Regions from separate parts of the Homo sapiens genome. Here regions 1, 2 and 4 are each linked to region 3. Evidence: promoter capture Hi-C in 16 types of primary human blood cells and fetal thymus (Javierre and others, 2016). All regions are on one chromosome and are shown on one strand. Each heading gives the region's core, a stretch centred on a gene start or on the middle of the fragment in contact. The rest is flanking DNA. Distances are from core to core; before and after follow the strand shown. Region 1 has its middle 8.7 kb from the start of CGN. Region 2 holds the start of POGZ (pogo transposable element derived with ZNF domain). Region 3 holds the start of MRPL9 (mitochondrial ribosomal protein L9). Region 4 has its middle 21 kb from the start of POGZ.

Evidence for each region. The method cuts DNA at HindIII sites, captures the fragments that hold promoters and counts their contacts. A CHiCAGO score of 5 or more calls a contact.
Region 1: a contact is called between a fragment that was not itself captured here and the fragment with the promoter of MRPL9 in region 3, in 3 of 17 cell types (M1 macrophages, neutrophils and M0 macrophages). The highest score is 7.4, in M1 macrophages.
Region 2: a contact is called between a fragment that was not itself captured here and the fragment with the promoter of MRPL9 in region 3, in 16 of 17 cell types (M1 macrophages, M0 macrophages, M2 macrophages and 13 more). The highest score is 15.0, in M1 macrophages.
Region 4: a fragment that was not itself captured here is called in contact with the fragment with the promoter of MRPL9 in region 3 in 1 of 17 cell types (M1 macrophages); the score reaches 5.8 in M1 macrophages.

What each region holds. Positions count from the first base shown.
Region 1 is chr1:151,499,556-151,505,739 of GRCh38, reverse strand. No RefSeq gene overlaps it. Among named protein-coding and RNA genes, the nearest start is that of CGN, 8.7 kb to the left of the region's middle. RefSeq lists an enhancer at 1,349-1,849. The HindIII fragment of the contact is 2,715 bases long and covers 2,179-4,893 here.
Region 2 is chr1:151,458,738-151,465,078 of GRCh38, reverse strand. POGZ (pogo transposable element derived with ZNF domain) reads left to right here and starts at 5,585. Exons shown (of 19, transcript NM_015100.4): 1 at 5,585-5,927. RefSeq lists an enhancer at 5,315-5,364 and a silencer at 6,195-6,244. The HindIII fragment of the contact is 2,507 bases long and covers 740-3,246 here.
Region 3 is chr1:151,761,293-151,767,285 of GRCh38, reverse strand. It overlaps MRPL9 (mitochondrial ribosomal protein L9), which reads left to right and starts at 3,790. Exons shown (of 7, transcript NM_031420.4): 1 at 3,790-3,959; 2 at 4,140-4,296; 3 at 4,786-4,910; 4 at 5,131-5,181; 5 at 5,734-5,835. The coding sequence starts at 3,807. OAZ3 (ornithine decarboxylase antizyme 3) reads right to left here and starts at 631. Exons shown (of 5, transcript NM_016178.2): 1 at 398-631; 2 at 1-123. The coding sequence starts at 564. It also overlaps a transcript of TDRKH not described here. RefSeq lists an enhancer at 3,640-4,019. The HindIII fragment of the contact is 8,401 bases long and covers 1-5,993 here.
Region 4 is chr1:151,476,982-151,483,378 of GRCh38, reverse strand. No RefSeq gene overlaps it. Among named protein-coding and RNA genes, the nearest start is that of POGZ, 21 kb to the right of the region's middle. The HindIII fragment of the contact is 4,425 bases long and covers 1-3,515 here.

The sequences.
Region 1 (6,184 bases), core at 2,287-4,786, 260 kb after region 3:
AGGCATGATGGCGGGTGCCTGTAATCCCAGCTACTCAGGAGGCTGAAGCAGGAGAATCGCTTGAACCCGGGAGGCAGAGGTTGCTGTGAGCTGACATCGCTCCATTGCACCATTGCACTCCAGCCTGGGTGACAAAGAGAAAAGAAAAGAAATGTGGGCTTTCACAGTATTCTAGCCTGAGCAACAGAGCTACACTATGTTTCTTTAAGAAAAAAAAAAAAGAAAGAAGTAAAAAGAAATGTGGGCTTTATTGGTAGGTAATGGAGAGCTATTAAATGTTCTTGAGCAGGAAAGAGGCAGTACTTCAGAAAGTCTCTATGATAAATGCAATGGTAAGGCTTGATTGAGGTAAACCCTAAAAACCACAGTGGTGGCCGGGCGCAGTGGTTCACATCTGTAACCCCAGCCCTTTGGGAGGCTGAGGCAGGCAGATTACCTGAGGTCAGGAGTTCAACAACATGGTGGCCTGGCCAACATGGTGAAACCCCGTCTCTACTAAAAATACAAAAAATAGCTGGGCATGGTGGTGGGCGCCTGTAATCCCAGCTACTCGGGAGGCTGAGGCAGGAGAATCGTTTGAACCCAGGAGGCGGAGGTTGCAGTGAGCCAAGGTCGTGCCATTGCACTCCAGCCTGGGCAACAGGGCAAGACTCTGTCTCAAAAAAAAAAAAAAAAACCACAGTGGTGGCAAAAGGAGGGAAAAGCAAGGACCACTCACCCTGATGCTCTTTTAGCGTATTACTCATCATTTCTCTCTTGAGCTTTGTTTACAAATACTTTGCTCTTCAACAGCAATAATAATATGTAATTATACTAACACTTGGGGCTTTTCCTGGCTAAGTACAATTTCTATTCTGGTTAGGGAAGATAAGAAATGGTCACTGCATATACTCACTTTATATACATGTCCAATCTTTGAGTACAGGACTTCCAAGAGTCCCCAAAAGATATTTCATTCTTTGTGACCCATGTCGTCCACTCTTTTCTCAGTTTGACTAGGGAGGCAGAGCTACAGAGATTTCATGAATGGACATCACTGAGGTAGCGTACCAAGTCAGGAGTCAAGATATCTGTATTCTAATTTTACTTCTGGGAAAGCTGTACTCCTAGCCAAGTCTTCAAAATATTTGGGGCTCTGTTTTCTCTGAGAATTATGAAGATGATCCCAGATTTCATAACTGTATTGTTTCCTTTGGGTTTCTTGAAGAGGAAAAAGTCATGTTCTGCCTCCCACCTCTTCCTTTTGTTATCAGCTAGGAACGTGAGTAAGTGTAGCCAAATCTAGTACATAAAGGATAATTGTTTGGGACAAAGCATTCCAAGCAACTTTTTTCAGTTTAATCAGAGTCACTCCCCGACAAGGGAAAGACTCATTTCCAAGTTCCTTGTATCTCACCACACCCTGTAGCCCCTATTGTCCTAGCTGCGCATCTCTAACTCTCTGAGCAGCTAAATTCCAGTAAGTTCAAAGTCTCTAGTATATATTCATTTTTTTGTTTGTTTTTTAAATAGTAGAAATGGGGTTTCCCTATGTTGGCCAGGCTGCTCCTGAACTCCTGGGATCAAGCAATCCACCCACCTTGGCCTCCCAAGATGCTGGAATTACAGGCGTGAGCCATAGCACCTGGCCTTCAGTCTACATTCAAAATAAGAATATCATTTAAAAGGAAAAAAAAAAAAAGAGCAAGACAGGCCATATATTTCCAATTCCCAGGCCAGGCATGGTGGCTCAAGCCTGTAATCCTAGCACTTTGGGAGGCTGAGGCAGGTGGATCACCTGAAGTCAGGAGTTCGAGACCAGCCTGGCCAACATGGTGAAATCTCGTCTCTACTAAAAATAAAGAAAAAAAATTAGCTGGGCATGGTGGCATGTGCCTGTAATCCCAGCTACTTGGGAGGCTGAGGCACGAGAATCGCTTGAATCCGGGAGGCAGAGGTTGCTGTGAGCCGAGATCGCACCACTGCACTCCAGCCTGGTCAACAGAGCAAGACACCATCTCAAAAAACAACAACAAAAAAAGAAATTAAAAGGAACAGATTCCTTCGTGTAATTCTTTTTCTGGGTTGTTAAAACGCCATTCTGAGGAGAGAGCCAGTTTTCCTCCACACACCCAAACAACAGCTGATTCTACTTCCCATCTCGCTTTCCTCCTCTCATCAATGAAGGGGACAGAAGCTTGGCAGCTCAAACCTATACACACATCCCGCAAGCCCTGAGACTCCTCCAGTTCTCTCACAGTCCACTGTGGCAAAGAGTTTTAGCAGAATCCCATTAATTGCTGATTTGCTCAGGTTTTTTATCTGAATCTTTTTCAAAGTATAAGTCTCATAATACAGAGGCAAAATGACATATGGAAATAGCACTGAACTCCAAGACAAAAATACCTGATGTGGCAGCCATGACATCCCTTAGAAAGAATCTGCCATTCAACTGCCAGAAAGCAATTCACTGTCAGCCCACAGCTGCATCACCTTTGGGATCCACTACCATGTCAGAGCTAAGGCCACACTCTTCCTGAACAGCCCCAAGCCAATGACTGACAGTGTGGTTACTGGGACCTGGCCGTTTCTGCCCACTGTTGATTTCTCTATGTGATAACCTTTGCCCTGGTGCTTTCCACTGGGTAGACTGCCACTTGGAAGGATCTGCACCACAGCTTGAGGTTTTTCTTGCCCGATTTTGCTTCTGCCTTCCTTTACTTTATCAGGATAGGGAAGCCTATCCAAAGTCTTTCTCTGCCCATTCCTGCCTCCTTCTTTATCTTTCACAGGTGTTGCCAGCCAGTAAGCCTCTTGCACTCCTAACTTTGTCTCAGTATCTGCTCCCCAGACCACCTGAACTGACTCAGGTGACCACTCCAGAAGTGGTCTGAAAAAGCGAGCAGTAAGATAGGTTTAGGGAACTGCAGTACTCACTGCCTGGCTGGCAACAAGAACCCCTCCTGGATGTTGTGGGGTACAGGTAGTCTCTGGAACAAGATGGTAGCCAAGTTGCTAAATTTTCACTGATGTGAAATGAGAGAATGCTCCTGTGGTGGAACAGTTCAGGCATAGGGGGTAGGCGGAGGGACAGCAGTGAGTATAGGGACAATGGAATTGGCTGGCTGTTATTAAGTTGCACTGGGCCCTGCCAGGAGAAAATGAAAAGCTGAGAGTAGTTAACAAACGTTGGAAATTAACTGTGAAGGTCAGAGGGCCTTTCTGATGGCTTACAAAGAGGCCCTTATCTATAGCAGTGAGAGAGCAAAAAAATCTGAAGACCAAACTCGAGGACTTCAATAGAGCTCCCAGAGGCAGATCTGCAATCAAGGTCAGGACTCTGCTTGGGAAAACCTGGGACCCTAATACGTGGAATAGAAATATCTGGGCAGGTCCCCCCAAAGATTCTGGCTTTCTGCACTCCTCTGAACCCTCAGAGCCTTAAGACACTGCAGAGGCCTCTCCCCTCCCATGATCTCCTGACTGTGAAGATCTTAATCTTAAACTCTCATGGGTTAAATTACAGCATAGTCTGGTAGCTAAGGACATACTAGGCCTAATAAGGAAAGAAAGGGACTATAACCCAAAGTATCCTGCAAGAACTGGCCAACGTTTAGTGGTAAGAGTAGGGAAGTACCCATGGGATTGGATTTTGACAGTGCTTAATCAAGGGGATGAAATATAAAAGTGGATTAAGGGCAAGTTTTTTAACTTGGGGACCACTTTCTTGGGATAGAATATAACTTCCTGGCCGGGCACCGTGGCTCACACCTGTAATCCTAGCACTTTGGGAGGCCGAGGTGGGCGGACCACCTGAGGTCGGGAGTTCGAGACCAGCCTGACTCACATGGAGAAACCCCGTCTCTACTAAAAGTACAAAATTAGCCAGGTGTGGTGGCGCATGCCTGTAATCCCAGCTACTCAGGAGGCTGAGGCAGGAGAATTGCTTGAACCCGGGAGGCGGAGGTTGCGGTGAGCCAAGATCGTGCCATTGCAGTCCAACCTGAGCAACGAGAATGAAACTCCGTCTCAAAAAAAATAAAAATAAAAAGGAATTTAACTTCCTGGTAAGGACCTGCCCCTAGTGGCTCCTAGGAGCATGGAGGAAATGATAATGGTTGCTGAGTGAAGGTCAAATGTCTGTATTGCCAGAGCAACTGGGGGAAGAAAAGATTAAATGGCTCAGCAAAACGGGCATGATAGAGTGAATTCTAAGAATGCTCCATAGAAGGCCCGGAGGAATCCCTTTTTTTTTGAGATGGAGTCTCGCTCTGTCACCCAGGTTGGAGTGCAGTGGTGCAATCTCAGCTCACTGTAACCTCTGCCTCCCGCGTTCAAGTGATTCTCCTGCTTCACCCTCCCCAGTAGCTGGGATTACATACGCCACCACGCCCGGCTAATTTTTGTATTATTATTATTATTATTTTTGAGATGGAGTCTCGCTCTGTCACCCAGGCTGGAGTGTAGTGGCGCCATCTTGGCTCACTGCAACCTCCGCCTCCCAGGTTCAAGCAATTCTCCTGTCTCAGCCTCCCGAGTAGCTAGGACTACAGGCGCATGCCACCACGCCCGGCTAATTTTTTTTTTTTTGTATTTTTAGTAGAGACAGGGTTTCACTGTGTTAGCCAGGATGGTCTCGATCTCCTGACCTCATGATCCACCTGTCTCAGCCTCCCAAAGTGCTGGGATTACAGGCATGAGCCACCGCGCCCGGCCTAATTTTGTATTTTTAGTAGAGACAGGGTTTCACCATGTTTGCCAGGCTGGACTCAAACTCCTGACCTCAGGTGATCTGCCTGCCTTGGCCTTCAAAGTGCTGGGATTACAGGTGTGAGCCACTGCACCAGCCAGGAATCCCATTTACCAAGGCCATCAAAAATGTGCTGGTGAAAGTGCCAGCATCACACAGAAGCTTAGTTGTGGCTTTCTTCTACAAGCCAGTGCTAACAGGAGGAGACACTGTCACAAGCTTGGCTCTGTTATAGTGACAAGGATGATGGGTGTACTGAGGTAGTAGAGGCTGGTGGCAGCACTTAATTGCCAGAAGCCGTGGGATGGGGGTTACAAGTATCAGAGAGACTGGCAAGGGGCTTGACATGAAGAGTTGTATCGATGGTTAATAAAACATGCTATCCTTAGGGGGCAAAATGGATGTGCAGTCAAAACAAGGATATTGCTGAAGATGTGTAATTAACAGAGAGCAAGAATGGATGAGCAGGAACCTGAGGATGGAGCTCTCAGTTAAAAAGCATGCTCCTTTGTCTGGTTCCAGAACCTAAGTCAGTTTTCAGACCCAAAACTCATTGACTATAGAGGTACACTGGTCCCCAAAGACTGGCAACACCATGGTAATTATATACTATAATGATTCCCCAGTCCTTCCAAAAGGGGACTTGTAAGTATTTATTCAGGTGACTGTGCACAGATGACTGTTGGGCACAGGATCTGAACTGACATTGAAACATAGTCCCAAAGTGTCATCTTCACTCCCCTATTGGAGTGGGAGCTTATAAGAGCTGGATAAAAGAGTACTAGCCAAAGTCCAGCTTACAGTGGATCCACCCCATCTAGTCAGAAGCAATCTAGACTGTTCAGACATCCTGCAGAACATCACTTTGATCCATTATATCAATGACATCATGCCTGTCAGTCAGGATGAGCAAGAGTAGCTAGCATACTAGAGGCTTTGGTAAGACACATGTCCTCCAGATCATGGAAGAGATCCCTAAGATTCAGAGGATGATCACCTCAGTCGGTGTTTTAGGAGTTTGGTGTTTAAGGGACATGCCAGGACATCCTTTCTAAAGTAAAAGACAAATTGCTGCATCTTGCATCCCCTACCACAAAGACGGAATCGAAGTACCTGGCAGGTCTCTTCAGGTTCTGAAGGCAACACTTTCCACACTAGAAACACTGCTTAGACTCATATACTAGGTGGCACGAAAGACTGCCTGCTCTGAGTGACATCTGGAGCAGAAAAAGTATAGCCCCACTTATCATCGCTCTCAGTAACCCACTGAGGGACTTTATGCTTCCTATTCTGCAGCTCTGGGCTCCGCATGGTGAGACATTCTGATCCCCAAAGGGCCATACTCTTCCAGGAAAGGTCACATTAAGTTACATGGTATGGCTACCACTTGTGCACTTTGAACTCCTTGTATTCAGGAATCACCAAGTAAGAAGAGAAATTATCATTATCATATTG
Region 2 (6,341 bases), core at 744-3,243, 300 kb after region 3:
GTCTCTAGGAAAGTCCCCAACTCTTCTAAACATAAGAAGGTAGCAAATAATATTCCTAAATAAAATCCGGCCACAGCTGTTAACTTCCCCATTTTTTAATTTGACATTGGTCAAATGTAGATCTCCACTTGCCCTTTATTTCATGGCAATTTGCCTGTCAAGTTAAGCACCTCAATGTTTTCCTTCCACCACACATGCTGACTTATACACATGCTGAATCCCAGGCTCAGTGCAATCAGCTATCCATCTTTTCCACCTGGGAGCTGCTCAGATGGTAAAAATGTCTCTACTGTTTTTCTCTTACGTTTTCTGAAATGAGTAGCTCTCTTTGAGGTTCCAGCTTTGACAATCCTGAGTGTGCATTACAGAGAGTGGGATACCCATTTCTTTCTTTCTTTTTTTTTTTTTTTTTTGAGACGAAGTCTCACACTGTGGCCCGGGATGCTATGCAGTGGCGTGATCTCGGCTTGCTGCAGCCTTCGCTTCCCAGGTTCAAGCAATTCTCCTGTCTCAGCCTCCCAGGTAGCTGGGATTACAGGCATGCACTACCACACCCGGCTAATTTTTTGTATTTTTAGTAGAGACGGGGTTTCACTATTTTGGTCAGGCTGGTCTGAAACTCCTGACCTTGTGATCTGCCCACCTCCGCCTCCCAAAGTGTTGGGATTACAGGCGTGAGCCATCGTGTTCGGCTGTTACCCATTTCTTAAAGAAATCTGGCATTATCTCCCACGAAGCTTATTTCTGCCTGGACTAACCTCACCATCTGAGCCTCCCTACTCCCCGCCCAAACACATACCAGTCAACCTCACGCTGAACCTGAACAATAAGTGATTAGGTCTGCATTTTAGCAAAATGATGCCACCGAGGGCATCCATGACTCAATGCTTTTGAAGACATGCTGAAATCATTTGTCTCTCTTCTTTAACATTCTCCAAGCTACAGGTGGTTCCAATTTTCTTTTGTATGTTTTGTTGTTGTTGTTTGTTTGTTTGTTTTTTGATGGAGTTTCACTCTTCTTGCCCAGGCTGGAGTGCAATGGTGCAATCCTGGCTCGGTGCAATCCTGGCTCACTGCAGCCTCCACCTCCTGGGTTCAAGTGATTCTCCTGCTTCAGCCTCCCAAATAGCTGAGATTACAGGCGCGTTCCACCACGCCTGGCTAATTTTTTGTATTTTTAGTAGAGATGGGGTTTCACCATCTCTACTAAAGACCTTTGGCCAGGCTGGTCTTGAACTCCAGACCTCAGGTGATCTGCCTGCCTTGGCCTCCCAAAGTGCTGGGATTACAGGCATGAGCCACCGTGCCCAGCCCCAATTTTCAACTTGTGGCAGAAACCGTAAGTCAAGGAAGCAAGTAAGTATTTCCATAAACTGTAGAAAAGAAACACTCTCCAGCTATGTAACTGAAAAGCTCAGCTTGGGACATCCATTAACCTTTGACTTTCTTTCTTAGAAAAAGTTTCTAAGTTGGCTACTGAAGACTGGAATAATTTTTAGGAGTACCACTATTAGGATCAAATTTCTTCAACATATCAGACTGGATTGGCTTTCAGATTCCTCCCCAGTATGTTACAGAGGCACATACGAGTTGATTTCTAAGGATCTGATTCAGGTTATTTGTTCTACTACTTGGGTTTCCCATCATCATCAAGATGGTTCAAACCATTATCCAGATGGTCCAAAAGAGAGACCAAAGCTATCAGTTCTGTTACTTCACTCTGGAAACCTGTGTTTTAGCTGAAGAAGCAAAATGTTCCAACACTGTCCAAATTAATATGAGCATTCTCTCTTTAGCACAAGGAATACGTTTCTGGAAATAGCAGTGTTAACTGTATAGTCTCTTTTGAAGTGCTGCACCAGTGTTGTAATGTAAGGTGGCAGAGTTTCCTTGAAATCTTCTGAAGGTATAAAATGTCTTTGCTCATCATTTCCTTTTTTTTTTTTTTTCTTTGAGATGGAGTCTCACTCTGTCACCCAGGCTGGAGTGATGTGGTGTGATCTCGGCTCACTGCAACCTCCACCTCCCGGGTTCAAGCGATTCTCCTGCCTCAGCCTCCTGAGTAGCTAGGACTACAGGCATGTGCCACCACGCCTGGCTAATTTTTGTATTTTTAGTAGAGATGGGGTTTCACCATGTTGGCCAGGCTGGTCTCAAACTCCTGATCTTGTAATCCACCCACCTCGGCCTCCCAAAGTGCTGGGATTACAGGCATGAGCCACCACACCTGGCCAGGATACCTTTTACAACGTCAAAAGACACTCCATTCCCTAATTGCCTGTTGATCTTTACCCTCTGTTTCCTCACCCATTTCCTCAAAGGTGCCTCCAGATCCTGCAAAACTCCCACTTTTACATTTAGCATGATAGACTTTCTGTATTCTTGGTGGCAGGCATAGCACCATCACTCATTTTATTGGGCATTATGGGTCAAAACTGTCTCCCAGGGCACAAACTAAATGACAGAAAAATAGAGAGGAGTAAGTAACACACCACAGAACTCAATCACCTGAAGCAGCAGCTTCACAACTCCCATCCTGGTCCAAGCTACCATCAACTCTCACCTGGATTATTGCAATAGCCTTCTATCTGGTCTCCCTGCATCTGCCCTTGCCTCTATTAGTTATTCTTCACAAGCAGCCACAGTGATCCTTTAAAAACGTGAGTCAGGCCGTGTCACTACTTGCTTTATGATCCTCCAGCAGCTTCATTTTCACTACAGGTAAAACCTAAACTTTGCTTCACTTTCTTCAGGTCTTTGCCCAAATGTCACCTTAACAAGGACTTCTCCAATCACCCCACATAAAATAGCAAATTCTCCACCCCCATGTCTGCACCACACTCCTAATTCCCCTATCCTGCCCTTTACCCTTCATAGCACCTATCACCATTTCATATAATCCATATTTATTTACATAATGTATATCAGATTGCATTTTCCAAGATGGCCACAAGATTTCCCTTTCCGCACACTTTCTTACAATGTGACATTTCCACTATTCCCGTTGAGAGATGGGGATCTATGCTCTCCATCCTGTAACTGTAATGGAAGTAACACTATATGACCTCTGAGACTAGGTCACGATCTCTGTCTGGTCCTTTTGGGGCACTCAGTCTTGGAACTCAGCCACTATGATATGAGGAAGCCCAGGCTACATGGAGAAGCCACTTGTAAATGGTCTGCCAACAACCCCAGCTGCGGTCCAAGCCAACAGTCAACCTCAACTTCCAGACATGTAAGGAAGCTTTTGAGATTACTTCAGCCCTAGCCACTGCATACGAGACTCCCAAGTGAGAACTGTTTAGCTGAGCCTAATTACCTCCCAGAACCATGAGAGGTAATGAAATTGTTGTTTTAAGCCACTAAGTTCGGGGTCATTTGTTATTTAACAATAGACAATAGAACAATTTGTTTATGTGTATATTTTATGTCTCTTTCCTTCTAGAGTATAAATCCCACAGATTCAGGTATTTGTTGTTGTTGTTGCTGCTGTATTCCCAGCACCTAAAACAGTGCCTAGTACATGTGCTCAATAATTTTTTTTTTTTTTTTGAGACAGGATCTTGCTCTGTCCCTCCCAGGCTAGAGTGCAAGTAGTGTCATCATAGCTCACTGCAGTCTCAAACTCCTGGCCTCAAGTGATCCTCCCAAGTCTTCCAAGTATCTAGGAATACCACAACCAGCTAATGAAAAAAATTTTTTGGGGCCAGGCACGGTGGCTCACGCCTGTAATCCCAGCGCTTTGGGAGGCGGAGGCGGGCAGATCACGAGGTCAGGAGTTCGAGACCAGCCTGCTTGGTGAAACCCCGTCTCTACTAAAAACAGAAAAAATTAGCCAGGCATCGTGGCGCACGCCTGTAGTCCCAGCTACTCAGGAGGCTGAGGCAGGAGAATTGCACCCAGCAGGCGGAGGTTGCAGTGAGCCGAGATCGCGCCACTTCACTCCAGCCTGGGGGAGAGAGCGAGACTCTGTTTAAAAAAAAAAAATTTTTTTTTGTAGAGATGGGATGTTGCTAAGTTGCCCAGGCTGCCCTCAGACTGCTGTGATCCTCCTCCCTTGGCCTTCCAAAGTGTTGGGATTACAGGTGTTAGCCACCATGCCCAGCCCCCAATAAATATTCATTGAATGAATGAATGGATGCATGATCCATTTTCAATAAAGCATGCTAACAGTTACTGGTCAACGGTATATGGCATAGTCTGCGCTAGATCTCATTGGCTGGGAGAATAAATTGACAGGGCATGGGGAAATATGTTGGAATTTTTCAAAGGTTAATAACGTAATATACATAATGTAAATATAACATATATAATGAATTATACTAATTACACGACAGTATAAAATAGGATTTGAGTTTCATGTAGTCTTTTGGTGATTGATCCCATAATCCTAATATGGGCTTCTCCAGATCAGGTCTGGAAAGTCTTCAGAAGTATTTTCAGAAGGATTTAGTGATTCTTCTCATTCAAATAATGAAGTCCTTCCTAAGCATCCTACACTAGTGGAAATCACTCACATGGTTTTGGTATGAAATGGAATGAAACTGGGTGGTGGCAGTGTGTGTATGTGTATGCACATGTGCACACTCACACGGGCAGGTGCATACAATTTGGAATGCCTACTTCCACTGCCTATTTTCAGTCTGGTGGTTTGAATGGAGTGTGTATATAAAGAGCACAAATAAACATAGTTCTGGATTTCCCCTTTCTGCACCAAGTACCTTGATTTCACATTTGGTTTGAAGCAAATATTTGTGTATTGCTTAAATAGCAAACATTTTCAAATATTCAAGGAAAATATTACATTTTTATAATCTCAGAAGGCAATAAAGGACAAAATTTCTTAGCTACCTGAAAAGAGGTAGTTTTTGTCTGGGGAAGAATAAACAGGTGGATGGTCGTTTGAGTGGACTAACCAATTTCTTTGAGCCAACCCATCTCAGCCTTGATTGGAGCAAAAAGCATAAGGATGTGGAGTGTGTGTGGTTTCTTGGAACTGGGGATCTCTGCTGAATCTACTCACAATGGGAGCAAAGCAGTTTCCATCACAATAATCGCTTTAACAATCGTGTGCCACTTCTTTCCAGGATCCAGAAGGGCTTGAGGATCAAAATGGCTTTTAAAAGTTCTTCACTTAAACAAGGCCGCAGCCACAAGGTTACTTGGCCGAGTGTCTCTTGAGAAAGAGTGAGTGCCATTTTGTTCTTTGTTCCAATGACAGTTGTTGGTGCCACTGGGCCTCACCACCTGGCCTGTGTCATGAAGTCTCCCTCTTGACTGGGTCTAAGCCTTGAGTGGAAAGTGGGGGAGCCTCCCAACACTTCCTTGGAAACTCTTGGCAAGTAAATTGGGGAATATTTTCTTTGGAAGTCTCATTTTTCTCACCAAAATTTAGATATAGCTTCTGAAGCTAATTATTCTTTTTTCATTACAAAAAATGTTTTCCTTTATTTATTTATTTGCAGGCCCAGCCAAACTTGACTAGAAAAGAAGCCCGGGCAGGGGTTTGGATGAGCCCATGACGTGCAGCGCGCTCCGACCAATTGGGAGGCCGTGAAAAAGGGGAGGGCGGAAGTGACGAGCCGTATCCCTCCGCGGGGCGAGAGGGTCGGTGGGGGGAGTCGGCGTCTCTCTCCCCCGCGCCAGCTCCCGTACACGGAGCCGCATTCCTTGGCCCCCCCACCCCCCTCCCTCGGGGCCCCCCCGCCCCCCTCGGGAAAAAAATCCACCCCGAATCACTCGAACCCGAGGGAGGCTTCCTTTCACCCTTGGGGAGACGAGCTTTCAACGGTTACCTCTTCTTCGTCTCCCCCCAAGCCCCCGTCCCCTCCCCCTGCTCCCACCCCCTTCTGGCGCCGGGTGTAAGGTCCCTTTAAGGCGACGGCGCCTTCCTCGGGTCAGACTACCGGCGGCGACGACCACAGGAGGTGAGTGAGCGAGCGAGCCTTCTCTCTCCCCACCCCCTGCTCCCGGGGGTTCCGTTATCTTTTCGCTCGGCGAGGCGTTCAGAGGCGAGACAATGAGAGGGGGATGGGGCCGGTACGCGCGGGGGTGGGGGCGGGGGGCCGGCGGTGCGCGCCCCCGCCCACCGCGAGTGGCGGCGCGGCCCGCGGCAGGGGCGGCCGCGGGGTGCGGCGCGCGAGCGCGAGTGTGTGTGCGTGCGCCCCGGGCCGCGGGAGCCGCGCGAAGGGCCGGCGGCGGAGGTCCCTGCCTGCCGGCTGGCCGGCCGCCCCCGCCCCCCGGCGCCCGCCGCGGCGCGCGCGCGCGCACTCGCGCCCCACGGCCCCGCACACAGCCCGACGTCCACACGCACGCTCGGCGCGAGGCGTCTCGGAGGAGTG
Region 3 (5,993 bases), core at 2,541-5,040:
TAAGCTGGTCGTGGTTACCCTGCTCGGTGCTTTTGCCCTCCTGGAGGCCTACTAGGGACTCAGGAGCACTGGAGGCAGGAACGGGGCTGGAGTGTCAAGTCCTCCTCTTCCTTATAAGTGATGCTGGTTGGGAAAGAGACCCAAATTAGTTTATCTTGGAATCTGAGGTGGGAAGATACACAGTACCAGGCTCTGGCATGATCTTCTGTATTTTCTGTTGTCCAGCCTGTTTCTATGTTCCTGGGCCCAACCAGATGGAAAAATTCTAAAGTTCCATGCCAGCTTTCCACCCCCTATTCTGTTGTTATTTCTTGCCATTTGGGAAATTCTTTCAAATTCTTTTACTTTTTCCTTACATTTTATATAAACAACTACAAATAGAGATGAAAACAAGTACCTTTTATAACAACGAGGCAGCATCTTCTCCCGGAGAGTGATCCGGTACTTGTAACAGTAAAGGTAATAGGCGTATGGTGACCAGATCGGGTAGAGGTAGTTACGTGTTTTTCCCCTCTTGATATAAGAAAGGGAGTAGACAGAGGGGCGACACCTCTTACAAGGCAGTTTTTCAGTTCAGTGCCTCCCTGTGGCAAAGTGAAGTTCACAGGTGGGTGGCAGAGGTTTAGGCAACCTGGTGGCATTGTGACCCAGTGGGCACTATGACATGGATAAGGGGTCAGCCCTTATGTCACCTCAGGACTCCACTCTGCTGCTTATCTACCCTAATCCCTTATCCAAGGCTCATATTCGACTAGTATGCATGTTATGGCTGTATGAATGATTAAAAAATAGAACTTGAAGACTTCTGTACTGGTTGGCCAAAAGCCCTGCCTGAGCACTTGTGCCCACCCACCCTGCTCCTCTGTGGACACTCCCCTTCCCCCAAAATCCAGCAAGTAAAGAGTTGGTATCTGACTCTTCCAAGGCTCTGATCCAGTGGTGACCTGATTAGTTGGTTCCCAGTTCATACCAGTTGAGTATTTTTATTATCATCCCTACCCTTAATAACCCAGGATCCTTGTAGGGTAGGAATTGCAAACTAATTGTCTAGGCCCCTTCAGGGGCCTAGACAGCTTATGGAAATTAGTGGAGTGGCAGGGTAGGGCTGTAGCAAAATAGGAAAGCTCACACGTTATCTAAAGGAAGTCCACACAACTCAATTCCATCCAGTTCCATGCAAGAATGCAGACTTGATGGTGCTGTATCGTATGATTTTTGAACAGAAACTGGAAAGACAGTTTTGTAGTAAATCTCACCAATTTTAAAAAATATCGACTACTGGGCCGGGCACGGTGGCTCACGTCTGTAATCCCAGCGCTTTGGGAGGCCGAGGCGGGCGGATCACGAGGTCAGGAGATCGAGACCATCCTGGCTAACACGATGAAACTCTGTCTGTACTAAAAATACAAAAAATTAGCCGGGCGTGGTGGCAGGCGCCTGTATTCCCAGCTACACGGGAGGCTGAGGCAGGAGAATGGCGTGAACCCAGGAGGCGGAGCTTGCAGTGAGCTGAGATCGTGCCACTGCACTCCAGCCTGGGCAACATAGCGAGACTCCAACTCAAAAAAAAAAAAAAATCAACTACTAAAAAATTGTTGATAAAAAAACAACATTGTAAGCAAAATTTGGTTCTGGGACTGCCACTTTGAGACCTCTGCATATTTATCCATTCAACAAATATTTATTGAGGGTCTACTATTAGCCAGGCACTATTCTAGGTGCTTGAGATGATACATCAGTGAACAAAACAAATCCCTGCCCTATGGAACGTATCTTCTAAAAGTGAGAGGACAAACCTAGAAAATAAACATAGTAAATTGTTTAGTATGTTAGAAGGTAACTGCTATGGGGTGGGGGGAATAGAGCAAGATAAAGGAAGATAAGGAATGTGAAGGGGATGGGTCAGGGTTACAGTAAGAAATAGGGTGATCTCTCACTGAAAAAAACTGACATTTAATTAAACACTTGGAGGATGTGAGGTTGTTAACCAAGCCAGCATCTGAGGATAAGAGCATCCAACGCAAAAGCAGCCAGTGCAAAAGCCCTGAGCAGGAAACGTGCCTGGTGTTTTCAAGAAACAAGGAGGCCACTGTGGGTGGAGCAGTGTAAATTAGAGAGGAGCTAATGGGGTCAGAGTATGTATGGCCTTGTAGACCATCTGATGGCCTTTTTCTTTTACCTTGAGTAAAGGAGGAAGTCATTACAAAGTTTTGGGTGGAAGAATGACATGATCTGACTTATGCTTTAAAAAGATCATTCTGGCTGCTATAAATAAGCTACATAGAATTATAAACTGTAGAGAATTAAGGGATATCTTTTAGGGGACTATTGCAGTAATCCAGGAGAAAGTAGTGTCTTATTCCAAGGTAGAGCATTGGAGGTGGTGACAAGTGGCTGGATTCTGGAAATACAAGTGCTCCTTGACTTAAAATAGGGTTATGTCCTGATAAACCCATCGTATGTTGAAAGTATCATAAGTTGAAAATGCATATAATACACCTACCAAACACCATAGCTTAGCCTAGCCTATCTTAAACATGCTCAGACAACTTATCCGACAGTTGGGTAAAATCATCTAACACAAAGCCTATTTTATAATAAAGTGTTGAATATTTCATGTAACTTATTGATGTCCTACTGAGTGCACATCACTTTCACACCATCACAAACTCAAAAATTGTAAATCCAAGTCAGGGACTATCTGTAATTTAAAGGTAGAACCCACAGGATTTCCTGATGGAGTATGAGAGAAAAGAGTTAGAATGGAAAGAATGGAGTTTCTGTCAACTGAGAGGAAAAAGGCTGCAGATGGGGCAGTTTTGGGGGCGAGGGGGGAATAAATAAATTAGTTTGGGACAGTTAACTTTGAGGTGTCCTTTGGATACGTAAGAGGAAAATGACGAATAAACAGTTGAATATTTGAGACGAGTTTGGGAGATGTCTAGGATGGAACTAGAAATTTGGGAGTCATTGGCTTATAAATGGTATTGTAAGCCACGAGACTGGATGAGATCAACAGTGAGTGTATACTGAGAAGAGTAAAGGTTCAAAAACGGAGTCCCGAGGGCATTCTAAGAAGCGGGGAGAAAAGGAGAAATCAGCAAACGAGACTGAAGAAGACCGGTGTCCAGGAGGCCAAGTAGTGTATTTAGGAGGAAGGAGGACTGGTCAGTATGTTTAAGGGCCAGTCTTTCCATAATCTCTGCCAAATGGACCTTCTTTCATCCAGTTTTTATGGTCTTCTGTCCAGTACTGAGACCCTCCCCAGAGGGAACTGTCGCGGCCTTACCATAGTTGCTTTTTTTTCTACGGTTTACATAGCTTGTGATTTAGAATTCTCCTTTATTAGCTTAAATACTGCAGTATAATGATTAAGGGTCAGGCTCCTCCTGGAGCTGGCAGAGTTTTCCAAGGGATCCCATCCTTTACCACTTTTAGGTAGATTTGAAGTAAGGAAAAGTGAGAGCATCATTCATTCTCCGGTCAGTATCCAGTCATCACAGAACGTTAGAATTAAAAGTTAGCCCAGCAACTGGAGCTACAGCAAAGCCCACACTTTCAAGAGGAAGAGCGTCTTTTCCGGCGTCAGTCCACCTAACACTCATTCCATTATCAGTCAGTAATTCTAGGCGTCCGTCACCTCTGCCAAAAAGCAAAAATAGGCAAGCCGCGGTGCCATCTGTTCCCCGGCCCGCTCCCCATACTTTCGCTCAGCCGTACCGGCGCGCCGCAGGCAGCACTGGCGGGGGCCTTTCCTGCCGCCGACGCCGGGGTCCTCCCTCAGGTCTCATTCTGTGCCTGTGAACATGGCGGCGCCCGTTGTCACGGCCCCGGGCAGAGCTCTGCTGCGGGCGGGCGCTGGACGGCTGCTTCGGGGAGGCGTCCAGGAGCTACTGCGGCCGCGACATGAAGGGAACGCCCCTGACCTGGCCTGCAACTTCAGCCTTTCTCAAAATCGGGTGAGGGCTGAGTCTGGGGTAGGGGGTAGATACGCTCGAGTATTGTTTCTGGAGGCGCACTGGGACCTGGAGGGGGCCGATGTGGGGGTGGCGGGCTTTCCTTGAGGGGCTGGCGGCCGTGGTGGAGGGAGAGGGTGTTCCTTGTGGAGACTAGCTTACCGTCGCTTTCCTGGCCGCCAGGGCACGGTCATCGTGGAGCGCTGGTGGAAGGTACCGCTGGCCGGGGAGGGCCGGAAGCCGCGCCTGCACCGGCGACATCGCGTCTATAAGCTGGTGGAGGACACGAAGCATCGGCCCAAAGAAAACCTGGAGCTCATCCTGACGCAGTCGGTGGAGAGTAAGGCCCGGGCCGAGGCGCTTCCTCTCAGGCTGGTCCGGTTTGGCATCAGCTTTTTCTAGCCCGTCCCCCTCAACTATTTGCCTTGCTTTTTCTTTGTGGAAACAATCCAACTCTATATGTGAGAAGAGGAAGCCATAAAAACTATTGTGATTGTGACACTGGCCTCCAGCATTGAAAATTAAAACATAAAGGCAGCAACATCATTAACAGTGTGTGGGGAGAGGAGCCTGACAATTTGTGCCACAGATACTGAAATCCTCCATGGGACGACAACTCCCTCTATACAGGGGATATTAAATTTATACATCAAGTTCTAAAGAAACTAATTAGCAGTCTCTTAAATCTTGTTCCTAGTGAATATGAATTAGCATTTCTTTTAGGAAAAATAAGCACTGTGAGAAACTAAGAGGTGCTTCTCTTTTTGACATCTTTTCTTTAGGGACTCCTAGATGGTTCTAATTCCCCTGTCTCTGTTCTAATTGACAGATGTTGGAGTCCGGGGTGACCTGGTCTCAGTGAAGAAATCTTTAGGCCGGAATCGACTCCTTCCTCAGGGACTGGCTGTATATGCATCCCCTGAAAACAAGAAGCTGTTTGAAGAGGAGAAATTGGTGAGCTCAAAGGAAGGACAGAGAGACTTGGGGAGATAAAACTTCTTTTCTCTTGCAGCTTCCTTCCCTTTGACATTTAACTTAACTTGAAAATGAAATAGGAACTAGAAGAACAGGAATGCAGAAGCCCAGCCAATGTCCAACATAGGAATAGTTTGATGCTATTTAACATGGGCTCATTTTTCTTTTACTGCTTTTCATCTTTAACTTTCTTTTCTAGCTGAGACAAGAAGGAAAATTAGAGAAGATCCAGACCAAGGCAGGTGAGGCGGTGAGTAGAAACATAAAAAGTGTTTATTTGTCACAAGACTTACCAACCTCACCCTGAGAGTCTCCCTGATTCCCTTGAGGTCTCCTGATTGCAGACCCAAGAGTGGGAGAAAGGGGAAGTGTTGTGGCTGCCCCACAAAACAGGTATGGAGACCTCTTGGGAGATCCCTGATGTGTTGGGTGAAGTGCCTTAAAGTACCAAGGGAGGTCCCAATCTGGGAATCAGGGAACCCATGGAATAGTCTGAGATGAGGGCTCTGCCTTCAAGGATATTTACGTACAAGTTGGAGAGAACATGGACACATGAGAAGATAATCAGTACAGGCACCCGCCACCATGCCCGGCTAACTGTTGTATTTTTGGTAGAGACAGGGTTTCGCCATGTTGGCCAGGCTGGTTTCAAACTCCTGGGCTGAAGTGACCCACTTTGGGAGACCCACCTTGGCCTCCCAAAGTGCTGGGATTACAGGCATGAGCCATCTTGCTTGGCTTGCATACCCTGTGACCCTGACATGTTTCCTCTCCTTTGACTCAAACTCATAATTCCTTTCAGACAGTGAAATTTCTAAAAAGCTGTCGCCTGGAGGTAGGGATGAAGAACAATGTCAAATGGGAGCTGAACCCTGAAATAGTTGCCCGCCACTTCTTTAAGAATGTGAGTGAGTGTTCCCAAAAACCACTCTACCCCTGAGGTGGAAGCTGCCTCTGGAAAGGAGGCCTGGGATTGATCCCTTTGTTAGGAAGGGGTGTGATCATCCAGTTGTAGTTAAGGAAAGTATTCTTGGTTAGTTTGCAGGAATATGGGAAGGAAAT
Region 4 (6,397 bases), core at 54-2,553, 280 kb after region 3:
AATAAAGACATTAAAAAACAAAGCCCAAATTGCTTTTTCAATTTTTTTTTTTTTTTTTTTTTTTTAGACAGGGTCTTGCTCTGTCACCCAGGCTGGAGTGTAGTGGTGTGATCTCAGCTTACTGCAACCTCTGCCTCCCAGGCTTAAGCCTCTGGAGTAGCTGGGACTATAGGCATGTGCCACCATGCCTGGCTGATTTTTTTTTTTTTTTTTTTTTTGAGACAGAGTCTCGCTTTGTCACTCAGGTTGGAGTGCAATGGTGTGATCTTGGCTCATTGTTTTGTTTTTTTTTTTTTTTTTGAGACGGAGTTTCACTCTGTCACCCAGCCTGGAGTGCAGTGGCACGATCTCGGCTCACTGCAACCTCCACCCTCCGGGTTCAAATGATTCTCCTTCCTCAGCCTCCTGAGTGGCTGGGACTACAGACGCCTGCCACTGCGCCCAGCTAATTTTTTGTATTTTTTTTTAGTAGAGATGGGGGTTTCACCATCTTGGCCAGGCTGGTCTTGAACTTCTGACCTCGTGATCCGCCCGCCTCGGCCTCCCAAAGTGCTGGGATTACAGGCGTGAGCCACTGCGCCTGGCCGATCTTGACTCATCGTAACCTCTGCTTCCCGTGTTCAAGCCATTCTCCTGCCTCACCCTCCCAAGTAGCTGGGATTACAGGTGCTTGCCACCATGCCCGGCTAATTTTTGTATTTTTAGTAGAGACTGGGTTTCACCATGTTGGTCAGGCTGGTCTCTAACTTCCTGAACTCAAGCAATGCACCCGCCTCAGCCTCCCAAAGTGCTGGGATTACAGGCATGAACCACCGCGCCTGGACAGAGCCACCGCGCCCGGTCAGAGCCACCGCGCCCAGCCAAAATGTTTATATTTTTTGTAGAGATGGGGTTTTGCCATGTTGTCCAGGCTGGTCTTGAACTCCTGAGCTCAGGTGATCTGCCCTCCTTGGCCTCCCAACGTGCTAGGATTACAAGCATGAGCCACTGCACCCAACCAAGAATTTTTAGTGAAGAATTTCTGAAATTGAGACTTTGGTAGAAGAGAAATCAAGGTAGCAGGGCCCTGTCCCACTAGCCAGATGGCTTTGGTGACCAAGAAGATCTAAACTCCTGATAGTCATCTCCTATCGAGTAGTAGCAGGATACTTAGCAGTGTTGGGGTTAAACCTTCCTTGCCTTCAAGTTTGTTCTCTCCAATGTTAGCAGGCTCAACTTAGTCTTCAGTGATTTGAAATAGCATCTCTGACATCCTTTTTCAGAAACAGTAATGGGGGAAATATTTTGGACCAAGCTGAGGTACTGTCCATAGGAAAGTAAAAAATTTTTTCAGACTAAGGCAGGCCTGAATCAATTTCTTTTTTTTTTTTTTTTTTTTTTGCCCACTCCCCTTTTTTTTCTTTTTAAAGTCAGGGTCTCACCATGTTTCTCAGGCTGGCCTTGAATTCCTGGACTTAAGCAATCCTCTTGCCTCGGCCTCCCAAAGTGTTGGGATTACAGGTGTGACCCACCATGCCCATCCAATTAACTACTTTTAAATAAAATTGTAAAATGATGCTGAATTAGATAGAAACAATGTTGAAAATCCTATAATTTAGAACAGTAAAAAGTGTCTTTTGATTATCTGACTTTTTTTTTTTTTTGAGAAAGAGTCTCATTCTGTTACCCAGGCTGGAGTGCAGTGGTGCAATCTTGGCTCACTGCAACCTCCGCATCCTGGATTCAAAAGATTCTCCTGCTTTAGTCTCCCGAGTAGCTGGGATTACAGGTGCTTGTCACCATGCCCAGCTAATTTTTGTATTTTTAATAGAGACGCGGTTTTCACCATGTTGGCCAGGTTGGTCTCAAACTCCTGACCTTAGGTGATCTGCCCACCTCAGCCTCCCAAAGTGCTGGGATTACAAGCATGAGCCACCACACCTAGTCAAGATTACCTGACTTTTTAAGCTGAATGATGAAGAATCATAAACAGAGAAAAAGAAAAAAGGAAATTTAATTGACTTTTTACATTACCATAGGGAAAAAAATTACCCTGTTTACAGAGTTGGTCCTGTGGCCAGATCATATTTAAGGGAAGAGTGAGTTATTTATTTATTTATTTATTTGAGTTGGAGTCACACTCTGTCGCCCAGGCTGGAGTGCAATGATGCAATCTCGGCTCACTGCAACCTCCACCTCCGAGGTTCAAGCAATTCTCCTGCCTCAGCCTCCCGAGTAGCTGGGATTACAGGCACCCACCACCACGCCTGGCTAGTTTTTGTATTTTTAGGAGAGACAGGCTTTCACCATATTGGCCAGGCTGGTCTCTTGGCCAGGCTGGTCTCAAACTCCTGACCTTGTGATTTACCCACCTCAGCCTCCCAAAGTGCTGGGATTATAGGCATGAGCCACCATGCCCGGCGGGAAGAGTTATTTAATATAATGTTCTCTTAGTCCCTGCTTTCCAAGTTGTACTTAATTTCCAGGCCCCTTCCAAGAAAAAGGTGATGAATTTTGGGTAGGGTGGTTGCCCTCATCTCTTAAAATTGTCAATGCTGTTCTCTGTGCTGCTCCTGTCTTTTCCTCTGATTGCACTGTTTGTTAACACAGTTTGAAACATTTCATCTATCATCTTTGCCTCATTTCTGGGGGTTCTGAATCAGAGTTTTTTAGTGCTGGTTCCTGAGAACTAAAGGTCTTTTAAATTCTTGTTGTCTTCTTAATATCAGGGCATCTATTTCCTTTGTCATAAAAACTTTATGACCCTTTACCAATGGTGAGTTCAATTTTTTTTCCTTATATTCTTACAGTCCAAAGGCAGTGAGTTCAGTTTTTTTATATTTTTTTAAAATATAAAATGTTAATTATAAAAAAAAAAGAAAATTAAGCCATATATATAAAGTCTCACTCTGTCACCCAGGCTGGAGTGCAGTGGCATGATCTCAGCTCACTGCAACCTCCACCTCCTGGGTTCACTGTCTCAGCCTCTTGAGTAGCTGGGATTACAGGTGGCTACCACCATGCCCAGCTAATTTTTGTAATTTTAGTAGAGACGAGGTTTCACCATGTTGGCCAAGCTGGTCTCGAACTCCTGGCCTCAAGTGATCTGCCTTCCTCGGCCTCCTAAAGTGCTGGGATTACAGGCATGAGCCACCGCACCCAGCCCCAATTTTTAAATTTTAGATTCAACAGATAATTACTGTATCAAAATTGCTATAAAACTTTTTTTTTTTTTGAGGCGAAGTTTTGATATTGTTGCCCAGGCTGGAGTACAGTGGAGTGATCTTGGCTCACTGCAACCTGCGTCTCCTGGGTTCAAAGCGATTCTCCTGCCTCAGCCTCCTGAGTACCTGGTACTATAGGCGCACACCACCATGCCCGGCTAATTTTGTATTTTTAGTAGAGACGGGGTTTCACCATGTTGGCCAGGCTGGTCTTGAACTCCTGACCTCAAGTGATCCGCCTGCCTCGGCCTCCCAAAGTGCTGGGATTACAGGCATGAGCCACCGCGCCTGGCCCCAGATTGCTATAAAGCTTTCTAAAGGTTTACTTTCCATTTCTATTCTTATATTGTCAAGTACCAGTAACAAACTATTTGCAAACCAACACCAATCTGTGGAGCCCATTTCGACGGATATACCCTACTTCTAGGCCCATAAAATTTTCCCACATATGCTCTTCCATGCCTTTTGCATGGCAGGCCTTCATATCCTGAATTCCTGAAATAGCTGTATGGAGGAGAAGTGCCCTGCCACCCAAAGGGCAAGAAATAAATGTCTATTGTATCTGAGTCATTATTCTTTTTTCTTTTTTTAGAAACAGAGTCTTGCTCTGTCACCTAGACTGGAGTGCAGTGGCGCGATCTCAGCTCACTGTAACCTCAACCTCCTGGGTTCAAGTGATTCTCCTGCCTCAGTTTCCCGAGTAGCTGGGATTACAGGTGCCAGCCACCATGCCAGCTATTTTTTTTGGATTTTTAGTAGAGATGGGGGTTTCACCATACTGGCCAGGCTGTTCTCAAACTCCTGACCTCAAGTGATCCTCCCACCTTGGCTTCCCAAAGTGCTGGGATTACAGGCGTGAGCCACCACACCTGGGCAAGCCATTATTCTTATTTGGGTCTATGTGTTATAGCAATTAGTCTATCCTAACTAATATAACATGCTGCTACTGTTTCTTTCACAAGAGTAATTCTATTCAGAAAGAGCTCAGTAAATCTCTGAAGTGAGAGATTAAGAACAAGCTGTTGGAATGGAATGTGGTAAACAGGCTCTGGATGTTCACAGAGCAATGGTCAAAGCTAGGAAAAATGTTTCAGCGTGGGTGGCACCTTAATACTAAAGTGTTTCTGTAGTTGGTTTAAGTCTACAGAGTCTCATTTCAAGATAAGACTTCATTTGGGAAAACATTGGAAGGCTTCTCTTAGATTAAAATGGTATAGAAGAAGATGTATATGGAGCTGTCTTGTATGCAGTATCTGCTCAACAAATGTTAGTGGATTCTGAATGTGAACGCCCAAGCCTTACCGGAGGGAGGCCCTCCTTTGGGCCAGACCTGGGATGGGGGGGCGGGGGGGGTCTTTTTTCCACAGAGACATATTTTCTAGGCTAAAATCCTCCCTCATTTGTTTTGTATTGGTGCTACTGTGCCTTGGCAGCAAGAAGTCCTTCTTGAATTGTAACTTCCTTTCTTCCTTCTGTAATTTCAGGATGTCTCCTTGCTTTCAGTGGAGGTAGGAGTGCTGGCACCTGGCAGAGTTGTCTATGTCAGAGACAGAAACAGAAAGATGAGTACACAGAGGGTCATAAATCCACCTTCTCAGAACTAGAAGGAAACAGCCCATATGGCTAGATTGGCTGTTCTTTCAAGGAAGAGAACTGGTCCTCCAAAGGAAATGTGTTAAGTTAAGGAAACTGCCTGCTCTCAGCACTCCAAAAATTTATTTAATTAGGTATTTCATTTATTTATTGACCTCCACAAACACTGAATAATTAACTTGCCTCACTGCTCTACTGCCAGGAGGCAGAAATTTGCCTAAGAGAGGAAGGGCTGTGGCGAGAGCCTGGGTTCTTCTGACTTGTTTCAAATCACCACCACATGACCCTTTCTAAGTGACTGCACCATTTTCTCCCTATAAAATGTGAAGGGGATTGCTTTCCTCCTTCTGGGAAACTATATGCATTTTTCTAAAGAAGCTCTCCAACCTACAAAAAAAATTAACTGAAGACCATGCTGAAGTAAAAAGCATCTTAATTTAATCCTGATAAAAGGTCAAGTTTTTTGTTTGTTTGTTTGTTTGTTTGTTTGTTTGTTTGTTTTTGACAGAGTCTCACTCTGTCACTCAGGCTGGAGTGCAGTGGTGTGATCTTGGCTCACTGCAACCTCTGCCTCCCAGGTTCAAGTGATTCTCCTGCCTCAGCCTCCTCAGTAGCTGGGACTACAGGTGTGCACCACCACACCTGGCTAATTTTTGTATTTTTAGTGGAAACGGGTTTTCACCACGTTAGCCAGGCCAGTCTGGTCTTGAACTCCTGACCTCAAGTGATCCACCCACCTTGGCCTCCCAAAATGCTGGAATTATAGGTGTGACCCACCACACCTGGCCAAGCTCTTTTTATTATTTTTATTTTTATTTATGTATTTATTTATTTTGAAACGGAGTCTCGCTCTTGTCCCCCAGGCTGGAGTGCAATGGTGCAATCTCGGCTCACTGCAACCGCCACCTCCTGGGTTCAAGCGATTCTCCTGCCTCAGCCTCCTGAGTAGCTGGGATTACAGGCCCCTGCCACCACGCCTGGCTAATTTTTGTATTTTAAGTAGAGACAGGTTTTCACCATGTTGGCCAAGCTGGTCTCGAACTCCTGACCTCAGGTGATCCGCCCACCTCGGCCTCCCAAAGTGCTGGGATTACAGGCGTGAGCCACAGTGCCCAGTACTCTTTTGATTTTTAAATGAAGAGCTTGGAACTCAGAAGTAAATAATTAAAGAATGAATTTCTAAATCTATTTAAATTCTATATTAAAATAAACTAAAGCAGAAAGGAGAGAAAGTAAAGATGGAAGAAAAAAATGGAAAGCAAGTGAGAAGGAAGAAAGAAAAAAGAAATTCAGATGATAAGAGACTGATAGGTGATAAGAGGAAGGAGCTGGGGAGGAAAGTAAGAGGAAGAAAAAAGAGAGTGAAAGGAAGAAACGAGGAGAACTAAACTCAGTGAGCAGAACCTTTGGGCTGGGCGCTTTATGTACATCATCTCACACTTGTCCAATGTGTTCATCATATATTTAAGGTTTTAAACAGAGGAATGACATGATCTGATGGGCGTTTTTAAAAGCTCACTTTATCTGCAAACAGGGGCAGGGATAGATGCAGGTAGACAATTTCGGAAGCTGTTGTGCAAGTCTAGGAGAGAGATAATCTG